Regions from separate parts of the Homo sapiens genome. Here all the other regions are linked to region 3. Evidence: promoter capture Hi-C in 16 types of primary human blood cells and fetal thymus (Javierre and others, 2016). All regions are on one chromosome and are shown on one strand. The core of a region is centred on a gene start or on the middle of the fragment in contact, and the rest is flanking DNA. Distances in the headings are between cores, read along the strand shown.

The links. The method cuts DNA at HindIII sites, captures the fragments that hold promoters and counts their contacts. A CHiCAGO score of 5 or more calls a contact.
Region 1: a fragment that was not itself captured here is called in contact with the fragment with the promoter of LGR4 in region 3 in 7 of 17 cell types (erythroblasts, activated CD4 T cells, total CD4 T cells and 4 more); the score reaches 9.8 in erythroblasts.
Region 2: a contact is called between a fragment that was not itself captured here and the fragment with the promoter of LGR4 in region 3, in 10 of 17 cell types (erythroblasts, naive CD4 T cells, endothelial precursors and 7 more). The highest score is 9.2, in erythroblasts.

The regions. Positions count from the first base shown.
Region 1 is chr11:27,194,167-27,198,911 of GRCh38, reverse strand. All of the region lies in intron 2 of BBOX1-AS1 (BBOX1 antisense RNA 1), which reads left to right. Among named protein-coding and RNA genes, the nearest start is that of BBOX1-AS1, 22 kb to the left of the region's middle. The HindIII fragment of the contact is 2,078 bases long and covers 874-2,951 here.
Region 2 is chr11:27,178,589-27,182,975 of GRCh38, reverse strand. The region is part of intron 2 of BBOX1-AS1 (BBOX1 antisense RNA 1); the gene reads left to right. Among named protein-coding and RNA genes, the nearest start is that of BBOX1-AS1, 38 kb to the left of the region's middle. The HindIII fragment of the contact is 5,101 bases long and covers 1-4,387 here.
Region 3 is chr11:27,471,165-27,475,548 of GRCh38, reverse strand. It overlaps LGR4 (leucine rich repeat containing G protein-coupled receptor 4), which reads left to right and starts at 2,759. Exons shown (of 18, transcript NM_018490.5): 1 at 2,759-3,431. The coding sequence starts at 3,247. LGR4-AS1 (LGR4 antisense RNA 1) reads right to left here and starts at 3,818. Exons shown (of 4, transcript NR_131170.1): 1 at 3,717-3,818; 2 at 2,592-2,771; 3 at 2,353-2,381. RefSeq lists silencers at 2,986-3,035, 3,166-3,335, 3,586-3,645. The HindIII fragment of the contact is 11,499 bases long and covers 1-4,384 here.

The DNA of each region.
Region 1 (4,745 bases), core at 663-3,162, 280 kb after region 3:
AATTCAAGATAAACTCTTCATTAGTCTTATCAATGCACACAACTTACTCTCAGGGCCGCAAAATAACTTAGATTCAAAGAGGTGTCCTCCTGAGGTCACATGGCTCATAAGTGGCACAGTCATAACTTGAGCCCAGGGTCCAGGCCCTGTATCTTTTGGTTGAACCTTGCTGCCCCTCTTGGCTGCATTTTCAGTACCTCCTTTATTAGCACCTGTAATATTTTGTCCTGGATTTTAGGTTGTTTATCTGTGTCTACTTGCGTCTTCCCAGCTGCCAACACTAGGTCAGACATGGGGTGGAGGTGGGGGTAACTCAATAAATGTGTCAGATTCAAATGATGGTAACCCATAAGCAGCCTCTGAGAAAGGGCGTCTTCCTGGTGTGGGGGATGGATAGATAATGTTTTCTCTCTGTGATACTGTTTAGCTTTAAGGGGGTCTAAGTCTGCAGCCCTGGACTCCAGAGACCCATACTCTGATGAAGTGGATGTAAACTAGCCCTGTTCTGTCTGCCTTATTTAAGATTTAATTCCATGGATAAGCTTCCTACTGCTCTCAGGATAAAGAATAAAATCCTTCCAAGCTCAGGGAGACCAGTATTGTCTAGCCCCTGCCCATCTCTCTAGATTCTTATTCCACCTGCTCTGAGTACCCTGGCCTTCATTGAGTTCCTTGAACAAACCAAGATTATCCCTAGATGTAGGCAGGTCTCCACATTGGCCATTCTTAGAGCTCTCTGAACCTCCTCTCTTTCACAGCACTTGCTAGAGGTTGTAACTATCCACTTTTATTTGTAGTTATTTATTTAATATCTTCCTCCTATGGAAAGTCTTTAGCTCTGTGCAAAGTGCCTGCTTTGCTCACCCTTAAGCTTTGTGCACTGTAGGGTTTTAATAAATGCACACTTCTATTATTAATATCTTTACCATTTAATACGTATCTGTTGTTGTGATGGATGAATGAATTAATATGTGGGAATCGATTTTATGGTGATCTTTTGGACTGGCCTGATCTCCACTCAGCCGGGAAAGATTTCAGATGAAATCTTATCAGACAGATAGGGGACATGATGTCTGAGATTCCTTCCAGGCCAATGAGCCTTTTACTTCAGGAAGGCTGTTTGTCACTTTGCTTTAGCCATTGCTTTTATCATTCTTACGGGGATCTGTGGCTGTGTGTGTGTGTGTGTGTGTGTGTGTGTGTGTGTGTGTGTGTGTGTGTATCACCAGAAAGAAAGAGAGAGAGACAGAGAGAGACAGAAAAAGAGAGACAGAAAGTGTGCTGGCATGCAAGGTGATGGGAAATGACCCAGGGAGGCCCCTGGAAACGACCTTGGTTTCCCTGCTTGCCTCATTCAGGCAAGTGAGATCTCATTTGGCAGGGAGTGCATCAGCTGAAAAATGTCAAGCCCTGCACATCAGTGAGTTTTGCATTTCCAAATGATGGGTTTATGATTAAACTCCAATAACTCAAATGCACCATCCGTGAAGGATGCCAGTTCCATCTGGTAATTCTTGTTCTCTTTAATCCCTTCCCCTGTTTATTTTCTGGTCTGTGCCTCAAAATCCCTCAAACCACAGCCATGGGTGGGTGTTTAATCAAATTTTCTGATGACATGTAGACGCTTACCCTCATGGGTAATCATCTACGTTACCTATCCTGAAAATTGTAGAAAAAGACACCAAAGAGCATGAGGCTAGTGAGGGAGATAAGCTGATCCTAAAAACAGGATCCTTGCTTTCTTCCTTGGAAAGACCAGAGTAACCCTGACCTCTAGCTGGGTGGAGACAGCTAGACAGAGAATTCAACTGGTCCCTCCTGCTCTGGTTGGTGGATGTTGCCTGATCCTCTGGGACTAAAAGATAATATTTGGAAATCTCCATCCTAAAAATGTTCACTGTACCCTGCCTGGCTTCTCTTCCCCTCCTCAAAGAATATCACCATTTATTTAGTCCTCAAGATTGGCAAGGCATGAATTCCTGTGTTAGTTCAAATTACACCCAACAACTCTGTGAGGTAGGTGTTACTGCACCCACTTCCCCAGCAGGAAAACGGAGACTTAGAATTTTGTAACTTGCCTGGCACATACCATTACGAGGTGGCCAAATCAGCATTCTTAATCAGGGTTGTCAACTCCAAAGCCTGTTTTCCTTTTAACTCTGAGTCTGGGAGAGACCCTAGGGAGGGTTCAGGTGTCTGGTCTTTTCCCCTCCTCTACGGGGACTTGCTTTGTGGGAAAGGTCTCTCAATCACTGTGCTTATTTGTTCTACGTCTACCTAACTAATTCCTATTTATATTCAGAAGCCAGGCTGATTCTTCTTCCAGATACGTCAGTCCCTGTAAAAGCAAGCAGCTGTCTCCCAGGCCCTTCACTTTCTTGGTGATAACATCTTCATTCTTGCAGACTGAGAGCTCTGTTTGAAACCATGAGGTGAATCAATGAAGCTACCCAATAATGACCCAAAATGGAATTTGAAAGCCCACTGGGGGTTGAAATGTCCAAGAAAGTGTAATTCAGTTTTCTGTTTATCTTTCTCTGTGTGTTTTTAAGATGTTCTAGTCTCAACTAGAGATTTTTCTGGTTGATGAATGGGTTTCAAGCGAACTCTGTTCAGATGAGAATAGGGGGAGGACATAGAAAAACAGTTTCATTCTCTCTTTGATGAGATGATTGAGCTGAGCATGTGGGTGGTGAGATAGGTGCAGTAAGAGGAGGAATTCTAAAAAAAAAAAAAAGCAATAAAAATTTCAGTTCTTTAAAAATGCATTAGCTGATGTAAGGACAATGTTGCTTATGTAATGTGGGCATCTCAGCTTTCCATGGTGGGGTGTCTTCCAGTATGTGTCTGGGTTGATCCACTGACATGGCTAAGATTTTTCAGTGGCTTGCAAACTAACACATTAAGCTAATGGACTTTTTCTGTATTACTTTATTCAGAAGAACAAAGCTTGCCCAGGGCAGTTTGACATGTTCCTATTAAGATACAGTGTTTACCTGACTTCACAGTATCTTATTTTTCTCATTTTAAACTTTTACAGTCACTCAAATAATTAAAAATAATCACATGTTCTTTTAGACATTTTCTATAAAGAAAACATTTATTTAAAAAATTTGATTATGATAGCAGACTATATTTTTTATTTGTTAGTATAACATTGTCCTTGTTCCAAGGCTGCAAATACTTCTATGATATGGTTCTTTCATTTTCTCACATTTATTGAGCACACACTCTCATTCTATTACATGAATGAACCATTATTTAGTTAATACATCTCTCATTGTTAAGAAATTTGATTGTTTACAATATTTTGAAACTATAAACATTGCTGTGATAAACTTGCTTATACATATACAAGATTCTTAGATTAAATTTTCAGAAGTGGAACTGCTAGGTCAAGAGTGGCATTCCTACTTCTGAAAAGGTATGTTTAAATTACTCTTTAGAAAAGTTATACTATTTACGCTTCATCCATGAGTGTGCATTTCCCTGTACTTTCGTCTGATCATAGAAACTTGTTTTTTTGTGTGTGTGCCTGTGACTTACCCAGAGACTTCTTAGCCTACTAATAAATGGCATGTTAAGAAAGCTGACAAAGTTGGAGACTTTAAATACATTCAGGAATCTCAATTTAAGAAACACTCATAGACTATAAGTAGTGAGGCATCCTGCAAGCTGGTGAGAACACAAATACCACTAAGACCAGCCACTGTCTGCAAGAAGCCCACTGAATACCAAAGGAATTAGACGTGGAAGTGCAGAGTGTGTCTGGAGAAATGCTGGCAGACTGGCATGGCAGGAGCAAAGCATAAGAAGATGGTGTTAGGATGGGGAAAGAAGGGTAAGTGTGGGGCTCTTGACTTCTCTAAAAAGCTGGACCATTCTGTTGGCTGTAGACAGACATGAAAGCTTGTGAGAAGGGGAATGTTGTGAGCAGATTTGATTTTTTTGAAAAATCTTTCTAGTTCTCTCTCTTCTTAGCCCTTCACCTCTTTATCACCTGTTTGCTTTTGCTTGCTTTAGGAAGCAAGAGGATAGGGTTGAGAAAATTCGTGTTTGTTTTTGTCTGCATGGATTATTTACTTCTTAAAATTGAAAGTTGGGGGTACAGAGGAATTTTCTCTTTTTTTTAATAAAGTTATATTTTTATTAAACAGCCAAAAATCTTAAGACAAATACCTACAGACAATTTCTTCATTGGCAAATATTTTCCAGTCATAAAACATGATAATTTATGGGATTATATTCCAGTTTCTATACAGAGGAATTTTCTTGTTGTGTTAGTGTCCATGTGGAAAACTAGAGGATCTTAAGAATAAAACAGAGGGCTGGTTGGAAGTGCTGATCACCTCATAATGCAAAATTAATATCATATTCCACTTTTTTTTTGGTTCTGGAACCAAAAAAAAAAGAGATTAATTTTGGAAAAATTATTCATTTAGCTTTTTTTCTTAAAAAAGGCACATTTTCTATTTATAGTTAAAAATTCATCATTAAAAAAAGTTAATAGTTTGATTAATGTTTCAGGAAATTAAATATTATGCATTTTATTATGTATAAAGATAAATCAATACTACAGTCATCTAGTTCTGCAAAGAATGTTGCATTTGAAAGCCTGATGAGTTAGATTTGGATATTAAAGAAGAAAGAGCAACTCAAAGGAAAGAAGGAAGGGGAAAAGGTGAAGGAAGAAAGAAGGGAAGTGGAAAGCTTGAGCATGTTTTCTCAAGTCGTTTTTTGAAGCA
Region 2 (4,387 bases), core at 1,128-3,627, 290 kb after region 3:
CTCACATGACCACTCTTATAAGCAGCGCCTGCCCTCTACAGTGCTCTATCTAATGGGCATATTTAGGCTCAGGAGGAACTTATGTTTGAACAATGAGTGATCTCTGCTATGGGTGAGGAATGGGGGTGATTGGCATATGACACATATTTGCCATAATTGCTCTAAACAACACATACTTGCCATAATTGCTTTAAATGAATTAAATAATACAAAGCCTACACATCTCTCAGTGTTGTCTACAGACACAGAAGGGCATCACCTAGTTATTATACTCAGGTCCCATCTCAGATCCACTGAATGAGAATCTTCATCCTAACCAAAGCCCCAAGGATTTTATGTGCTTATTAAAGTTAGAAAAGAGCCACTGTAAAACTTTTTTTTTTTTTTTTAATAAATCTAGTGACATATCAGAGGTCAAGGCTGGACTTCTGCTGCATGTAATTGAACAATGTGATTATTTTTGCATTTTATCACTTTTGTTAATTTTATTTTTAAATTATCGTATAGTGAAATGGACTTTTTTGCTGTACAGTTCTATGAATTTTAAGACATGTGTGGATTTGTGTGACCACCATCACAATTAGGATGCACTACAGTTCAGTAAGCCCCCAAACTCTCTTGTGCTATTCCTCAGTAGGCACACCTGCTTCCACCCTTAATCACTGCTGACCACTGATCATTCTCTGCTATTGTAATTTTGTCTTTTTTACAATGTCATTATAAATGGAACCATACACTGTGCAACCTTTTGAGACTGGCTTTTTTCATTCAGCATAATAACTTTCATAACTAGGTTTTAATTTCTTTCTTTTTCTTTTTTCTTTCTTTCTTTCTTTCTTTCTTTCTTTCTTTCTTTCTTTCTCTCTCTCTTTCTTTCTTTTTCTCTCTATTTCTTTCTTTTTCTTTCCTTCTTTCTCTCTCTTTCTCTTTTCTTTCTTTCTTTCCCAGCTATAAAGATAATACTGTAGAGTAAATTATGTGACTCCATCCAAAAATGCTGATTTCACTGACATAAATGTTGAGTCTAGATGATCCTAGGAATATATCAATATATTCCCTCCAGGGTATCTATGCTCATTTAGGGGTGACAGTGTATATGGAGTTTACTTCCTAGGCACACTCAATCTGTTGTCACTTGGTATTTGCTGTACTTCATAAAATGCTCATTCATATTCTTCTTATTAGGCTAACATTTGTTTTATTTCTCTTTTTTAAAATGACATTTTTAGTCTGAGCCCGGTGGCTCACGCCTGTAATCCCAGCACTTTGAGAGGTCAAGGCGGGGGGATCACCTGAGGTCAGGAGTTTGATACCAGTCTGGCCAACATGGCAAAACCCCGTCTCTACTAAAAATACAAAAATTAGCTGGGCATAGTGGCAGGCACCTGTAATCCCAGCTACTCAGAAAGCTGAGGCAGGATAATTGCTTGAACCCAGGAGGCGGAGGTTGCAGTAAGCAGAGACTGAGCCTCTGCACTTCAGCCTGGGAGACAGAGCAAGATTCCATCAAAATAAAATATAAAATAAAATATAGAATAGAATAGAATAGAATAGAATAGAATAGAAAAAATAAAATAAAATACATAAAATTTTTAAAGGATGTATTCCTTACCTGTCTTTGTAAATCATGTTTTGGATGGAAAACTTAAATACATACATACCCCAATCCACCAGACATTATACAATGGGATAAAATTTAACATTCTTTTTTTTTTAAGTTTTGAAACAAATAGCTTTATAGAAATCTTTCTAAGAAGGAAAACAACAAACAGAATGTTTAAAATTCTGCCCTAGAATATAATCTTCATTATCATAGCCATCCTTTATGTTTATAAATCAGTTTCCCCTCCATCCTCTGTTTGAAATCAAGAGTCCTGAAAAGGGAAGGAGCCCAATTATTTTTAGTGTTATTGTGCAGATGAGAAATGTAAAAACCAAAGGGGAGAGGAGTAGTCAAAGGTTACACAGATGGTTGGTGATAGAGCCAGAATTAGAATGCAAAACTTTGGGTTCAATTCTGCTCACTAAGCCTCTGGTATTGCAAAAAATTTTTTTCTATTAGATAATCACAAAGACTTTGTTAGATCTTTGTTTTAAAAGACAGGAATAGTCTCTTATGAAAAACAAAGACTGTCTAATCATGGTACTTTTTTTTTTATATAACCTCATGAATATTTTGATAGTAATCCTTTTCTGTTCTTTTTGTTTGATTCTGGTCCCACAGAGCAGTGGGGTTTGAGGATACCACTCATTTGCCATCACAACCACACAAGTAGACACTTTTGTTTCCAGAGAGTAAAACTGTAAAAGACTGAATTCATTTCCTAGTTCCCTATTCCCCTGCTTCCCATTTTAGAGCCTTCCAAAAATAAAGTCTACTACAAAGCAGGACTTATTAGAAAATAAGACAGGATTCTCTTCTCCCTTGGAATTGCCATGGGATCTGGTAGTCACTTCTTTATGCCCTTGGGATCAGGTTTATGGGAAAATTTTACAATGCAGGGGATAAGTAATATTTCAATGGAAGTGGTTATGATTTTAGTTCATATCTTCACAGACATTTTGTTTGGGATTTTATCTGAAATGTGCTGCACATTGGCAATTTGGAAACCATTATCTTCAAAATCATGGAAACAAAAGCTGAGAGCCTCTTTAAAGCTGACTGGGTCTTAGTAATGGAGGAAGGCAATGCTTAGCCCTGGTGCATAAAAATTGCTTTATGTTCTCTTAACCACCTTTTCACCCATCCCCGGGACATACCCTGCACTGCCTCCAATCAAGAACAGTGCCTAAGCTGGGCATGGTGGCTCACATCTATAATCCCAGCACTTTGGGAGGCTGAGGCATAGGGATCACCTGAGGTCAGGAATTTGAGACCAGCCTGGCCAACATGGTGAAACCCTGTCTCTACTAAAAGTACAAAAATTAGCCGGGTCTGGTGGTGCACGCCTGTAATGCCAGCTATTCGGGAGGCTGAGGCAGGATAATCGCTTGAACCCGGGAGGTGGAGGTTGCAGTGAGCCGAGATGCACCACTGCCCTCCAGCTTGGGTGACAGAGCAAGACTCTGTCTCAAAAACAACAACAACAACAACAATAAACAGTGCCCAGTTGTCATATGGCTCTCCTGCAGGGATGACCCGCAGCCACCCCATGCTGCAGAAGCCTACTCAGGGTAAGTAATAGGCCCAAAATGAATTCATTAATTAACAAGGGTGATGGGAAATTGTAAACACAGCTGCTGGCTGCTGGCTCTGCAGACCTGCGTGCATATGGCAAGCGCAGAAATCTTGTGTGGTAACACAGCCATACTGTCTGGGGCTCCTTAACTGAACTTGACAGAATATCTTTGGCAGAGGAGCCAACAGCAATGTGGAAGTCTCTCCAGAGGTACCCTGAGGCAGGACTCATTTTTGCTCGGAGTTTCTCTCCTTACAGTCAAGCTGATGATGAGAGAGTCTTGGCAAAGAGTGGGAAGACAGCAGCCACCCATTTACAAATGGGCATATTTTCCAGTCATTGAGCAATTATGTTTTTGATGAGTTCCCAGAAGAGACAATAGCTGACCTTTTCTTCATAGCTGCCTTTTAGCAGTGGTTACTTAACTTTCACCCAAAAGTGGGCCACAGCAGTTTTCTGCCTGGGAGGGACACATTTATTCCTTTAGCAGACCAAGTTGTTTGATATACAAGATAGCACCTTAACTTTCCAGAGACCTAGGGTCTAGAAAATATTTCCATACTTGCTTTTTCATATGAACTCACCTATGGATGAAGAAAGCAAGGTTCAGAGACCTCAAGGAACTTGCATGAGGTCAAATAAAAAGCAAGTGGGAGGTCTGCAACTTGGATCTTCAGTCTCTGCACTCTGTGTTCTTTCCACTACATCCTACGTGCCCCACCAGGCCTTTGGAGAGGAGCAGGAAGTCATAACGAAGTCTGACTATTGGCCCAAAGTGTTGGAATCCCTCAACACGCTGCTGGAACCAGGGCTCAGACTTGCTGACGAACACTTGCTGCATCAATATTTGGACCAAAACAAAGCTCATTGACAGTACGTTCTGGTAGCAGAAAAAGAAAACACATGAGGCAGCTTGTTTGTAATTAAAAATGAGGAAAACAAGTGGACTCACAGGCAGGCCCAAGATGAATTCCTGATGAATTCCTTCCTACTGTGGGCAAAGTGTTTTCCATTTGTGCTTCAGAAGGCCCACACGATGTCTAGCCCTCCAGGAATTTCTAATACTGGGTTCTTTGAACAATTCAACTTGACCCATATACATACAGGATTGTGTATCTGTGGTTTGCAAAGCACCATGGTAGAGGTGGGGGTATCAGAAATGATTAAAGCAGGCTTCCTGCTTTTGAATTGCTTCCAGTCTTGTGGAA
Region 3 (4,384 bases), core at 1,510-4,009:
GGTTTATCTCAGTATCTTTCCAGTCCTTATGATTTATTTAAGAGCTGATCATTTTTCTCTAGTTATCTGAGATATTACCTTAATCACTGGTTTTTTGTTTTTTGTCTTTATACTTTCTTGGGACATCTTATCCAAGAGATGGAGACTAATTGACCAATGTATCTCTAATGCAAAGCATACAAAATGTACCAAATAAGAAATACAAACACTTCAATATATCTTATCTTTTCTGTTCCCTACCCAAGTCTTTTGTTCCTGATCTTTTATCTTCTTGGCTAAGCTGCAAATTTGAATCTTCCTTTCTTACATTTGTCATCTAATAGACAATAGGAATTTATTTTTTAGTAAAATCTGCATCTCCCCTTTTTTCAAAATATAAATCTCTCCTTTCACCTAAGTTTTCAGCCATAAGATTTTATTATTTGAAGACAAAGAATAAAGTTCTCCAAGTGTGGTTCATGAATCACCTGTGTCACTTTCACTTGCTGTGCAACAAAATGCTGGTTTCTGGGCCCCACTTAGGCCTACTAAATCATTCTGCATTTTTAATCAAGATTTGCATATAAGCCGGACTCCGTGGCTCATGACTGTAATCCCAGCACTTTGGGAGGCCAAGGCAGGTGGATCACTTGAGGTGAGGAGTTTGAGGCCAGCCTGGCCAACATGAGAAACCCCATCTCTACTAAAAAAAAAAAAAAAAAAAAAAAAAAAAAAGTAGCTAAACATGGTGGTGGGCACCTGTAATACCAGCTACTGGGGAGGCTGAGGCAGGAGAATCACTTGAACCCGGGAGGTGGAGGTTGCAGTGAGCCAAGATCACGCCACTGGACACAGTGAGTGAGAGTCCGTTTCAAAAAAAAAAAAAAAAAAGAAGAGATCTTAAAGAAACGATTACAGAAACTAACTTTACAATTTCTTCCTTATTTGTTCATGACAGTTGCTAGAAAATAATGGAAATGATTTAGACGATGAAAGCCTATTTAGGGAAGGCTCTAAGAGTACCAGATTAGGAGCCAGGAGCCCAGGAGCTGTTCCGTGATGATGTTGGGCAGAACACACTCTCTCTCGAGCCTCAGATTTCTTATCTATAAAACCAGAGTTTTCTGGGGGTCTTTAAGTTGTCTTTCAGCCCTGCAGTGAGAGGAGATATGTCATTCCTAAAACTTGAAATGAAGGCATATGTTTATTTATTAACTCTCTAGCTTCTAGACAGATTTACTGTATGTGACTTATGTGCCCAACCTGACATTATCTTTTAGATAAACTCCCAAATACAAAGATGATAAAATTTTTTCATTTTAAACTTATAGGTCTGCATCAACCTGTTTCCATTGTCCTAAGTTTTATTTACATACGATGGCTAGTCAACTTTATATGATAATTATCTTTAAATCCTGCTTTTTTTTTTTTTTTTTTTTTTTTTTTTTGAGACAGAGTTTTGCTCTTGTTGCCCAGGCTGGAATGCAATGGCGCGATCTCCAGCTCACCGCAACCTCCGCCTCCCGGGCTCAAGCAATTCGCCTGCCTCAGCCTCCCGAGTAGCTGGGATTACAGGCATCTGCCACCACACCCGGCTAATTTTGTATTTTTAGTAGAGACGGGGTTTCTTCATGTTGGTCAGGGTGGTCTAGAACTCCCAACCTCAGGTGATCCGCCCGCCGCAGCCTCCCAAAGTGTTGGGATTACAGGCGTGAGCCACCGCGCCCGGCCGAATCCTGCTTGTTTTAATGTATTCATTAAAAATGTCTCCATTATAGAGTAAAACGACTCAACGCCATGGCAGAGAGCAAGAAACGAAGTACCCTTAAAGCCGTAGTTGGTACAGGTAATGATTCCGTGGGGTCTATTAGGCCACAGGGACTCAAAATCCAGAAGAGGAGGGAATGCTGATAATTACCTAACACCAACGTTGCTGCTGGCTTCTCAGCCGTAGTCACCTCCCACTCAGATGTTTTGGAAATTGTCCAGTGTTCAGAAACATCACTTTCTCTGACCTTTTACAAAATTCCTGTGTTTCAGGATTTTAAAGTGCGTGAGAAAGGAGTCTAATTTGCAGTCACCAAAAACACCAAATACAGAGAGAGGACTGGGGAGAATGAATTGCTAAGACTTAGCTACCAAATGTGTATCAAGATAGGTGTAAAGATCCCAGGTGAAGTGAGGCACTGGAGAGGGTACACTTTTAACTTAGTGTATAGCTAAAACCCAAAGATGTGTGTCAGATCGAGGGAAACTTTTTTCCTCCTCTTCAAAATCTTTTTTCCGTTTGCAGAGCTCCAGACGTCCTCGCCCTTTGGAACAGCGGAGAGTCATTTAAAACTTAACTGAACGCTGGAGGGAAGTTCTACTTACCAGGTCATCCAATTTAGGAGATCCAATTTCTGCGGAGGGAACAAAAAGACGGGTGGGGGAGGGAAAAACTAGACCCCTTGTCCTACTATCCTTCTACCTTCAATCCACAACCTGCCAGACAAATCCAGCCAAGTCAAGATTTTGCCTTGAACCACCACCACCACCACCACCACCACCGCCGCCACCACCACCACCACCACCGCCGCCACCACCACAACCACCACCACCTTGTCACTCACGCCCGAGAAACACGCCCCTCTGGTCCTCCTCTTGGCCAATGGCGGCTCTCCTCTCTGCATAGTAATGAGCTCGAGACCTCCCCGGGCCAATGGCGCTCCGGGAGAAGGGATACTTTTGCATGTACCTAAGTGATTTGCATAAGCCAGCGGCCGGGGGTTTGGGAACCAGAGCGTGCAACCCTAGAAGGGAAAAGGACGGGAAGAGATTGAGCCGCGGCTGGGAGACAGCGAGCCAGAGTCTGGGTGTTTGTGCGAGAGCCACGGCGGGGGCTGGGGCGAGTGGCCGGCATGGCTGAAGGCTGCGCTCTGCAACCTTGAAGAGCCGCTGCATTGAGAGGCCAGGGACAGGGAGACCGGTGCGATGGCAGAGCGCGGCCCCCGCCGCTGCGCCGGGCCGGCCCGGCTGGCGTGAGCCGCCGGAGGAGCGGGGCTGCCTCTGCGCGTCCATGGAGCAGCGGGAAGGGCGAAACTCCGGAGCGCCGCGTCCCTGCGCCGCTGCGGCGGACTGCTGAAGGGGCCGAGCCCGCGCGGACCGCCGAGGAAGAGACCCCCGCTCCAGCCCGCAGGCCGGCTGCCCGGGGGCGGCGGGGGACATCGGAGGGCAGCGGAGCGAGCAGCGCCGCGGGAGAGGCCGGCGCGGGAGGCGGCCGCAGCAATGCCGGGCCCGCTAGGGCTGCTCTGCTTCCTCGCCCTGGGGCTGCTCGGCTCGGCCGGGCCCAGCGGCGCGGCGCCGCCTCTCTGCGCGGCGCCCTGCAGCTGCGACGGCGACCGTCGGGTGGACTGCTCCGGGAAGGGGCTGACGGCCGTGCCCGAGGGGCTCAGCGCCTTCACCCAAGCGCTGTGAGTGCGGGCGGCGGGGACGCGAGGGGGGGGGAGGAAACGGGGCCCAGCGGGGGGCGCCGCGGGGCGGAGCCAGGGGTCAGTCCCACCCCACCCCGCCCCGCCGCCGCCCGGGCCTGGGGAGGGGGTCCGCCGGTCACCTGCGTGCGGGCTGCCTGGCACCCACTCCTGTGCCACGGGCTTTCCGCACTTTGCTAGTCCGGGTTCGAGCCAGCAGTAGCTTTCGTTCCCAGACTTTTTGGGCACAAGCACCCTCCCACCCCACCGCGCACACCCCCAACTCACAAGTGCATCTGGGGCCAAGAAGGAGGAAGTAATCTAAAAACGCTTGCCCCTGGCAGCCTGTCCACGCGACCTTCCCTTCTCATGAGGGCCCTCGCTCAGCGGGCAGGAGTTCCGCTACTGGCGGGGCTGAGGGCGCCGAGAACTTGGCCTCAGTCTGCATACCGAGGCATGTCTCGTGGGGAAGCACCTGGAGCCTCCTGGGTTCCAGCATGTGGGGAGAAGAAACACCTGTACCTCAGTCAGGGCGAATCTCCTTCCAATTTGGCCCCATCCAGGTAGTGCGTCCCGGCACCTACCTCGGCCCAGTTCCACTCGGGACTACCCCACTAACGCCCAGGCTTCTGCAGCACGCAGGGGAGTCCGAGAAAACAAGGGAGAATTACAGGGTTCTGTTGGTGGACATGCTCTTACCCAACAAGGCCTTTTAAAGAAGGAATGCTGACCTGAGGTGCAGGATGTTGGAAGAGAAGCAAGTTCCGGAGCATATGCTCAGCCCAGGCTGCAAGGTAGCAGCAGGTTTCTAATGCACCTTCACGCAGCCAGCAGATCTTTTCTTTTGAGCTGCCTGAGATCGAGAGACACACTGAAATGTTTCAGACTTACAAAATCGCCCTGCCAAAACGGACTTGAGAGCTTTAGACGTTCCCTTGAGAAAAGAAGAGGAATCT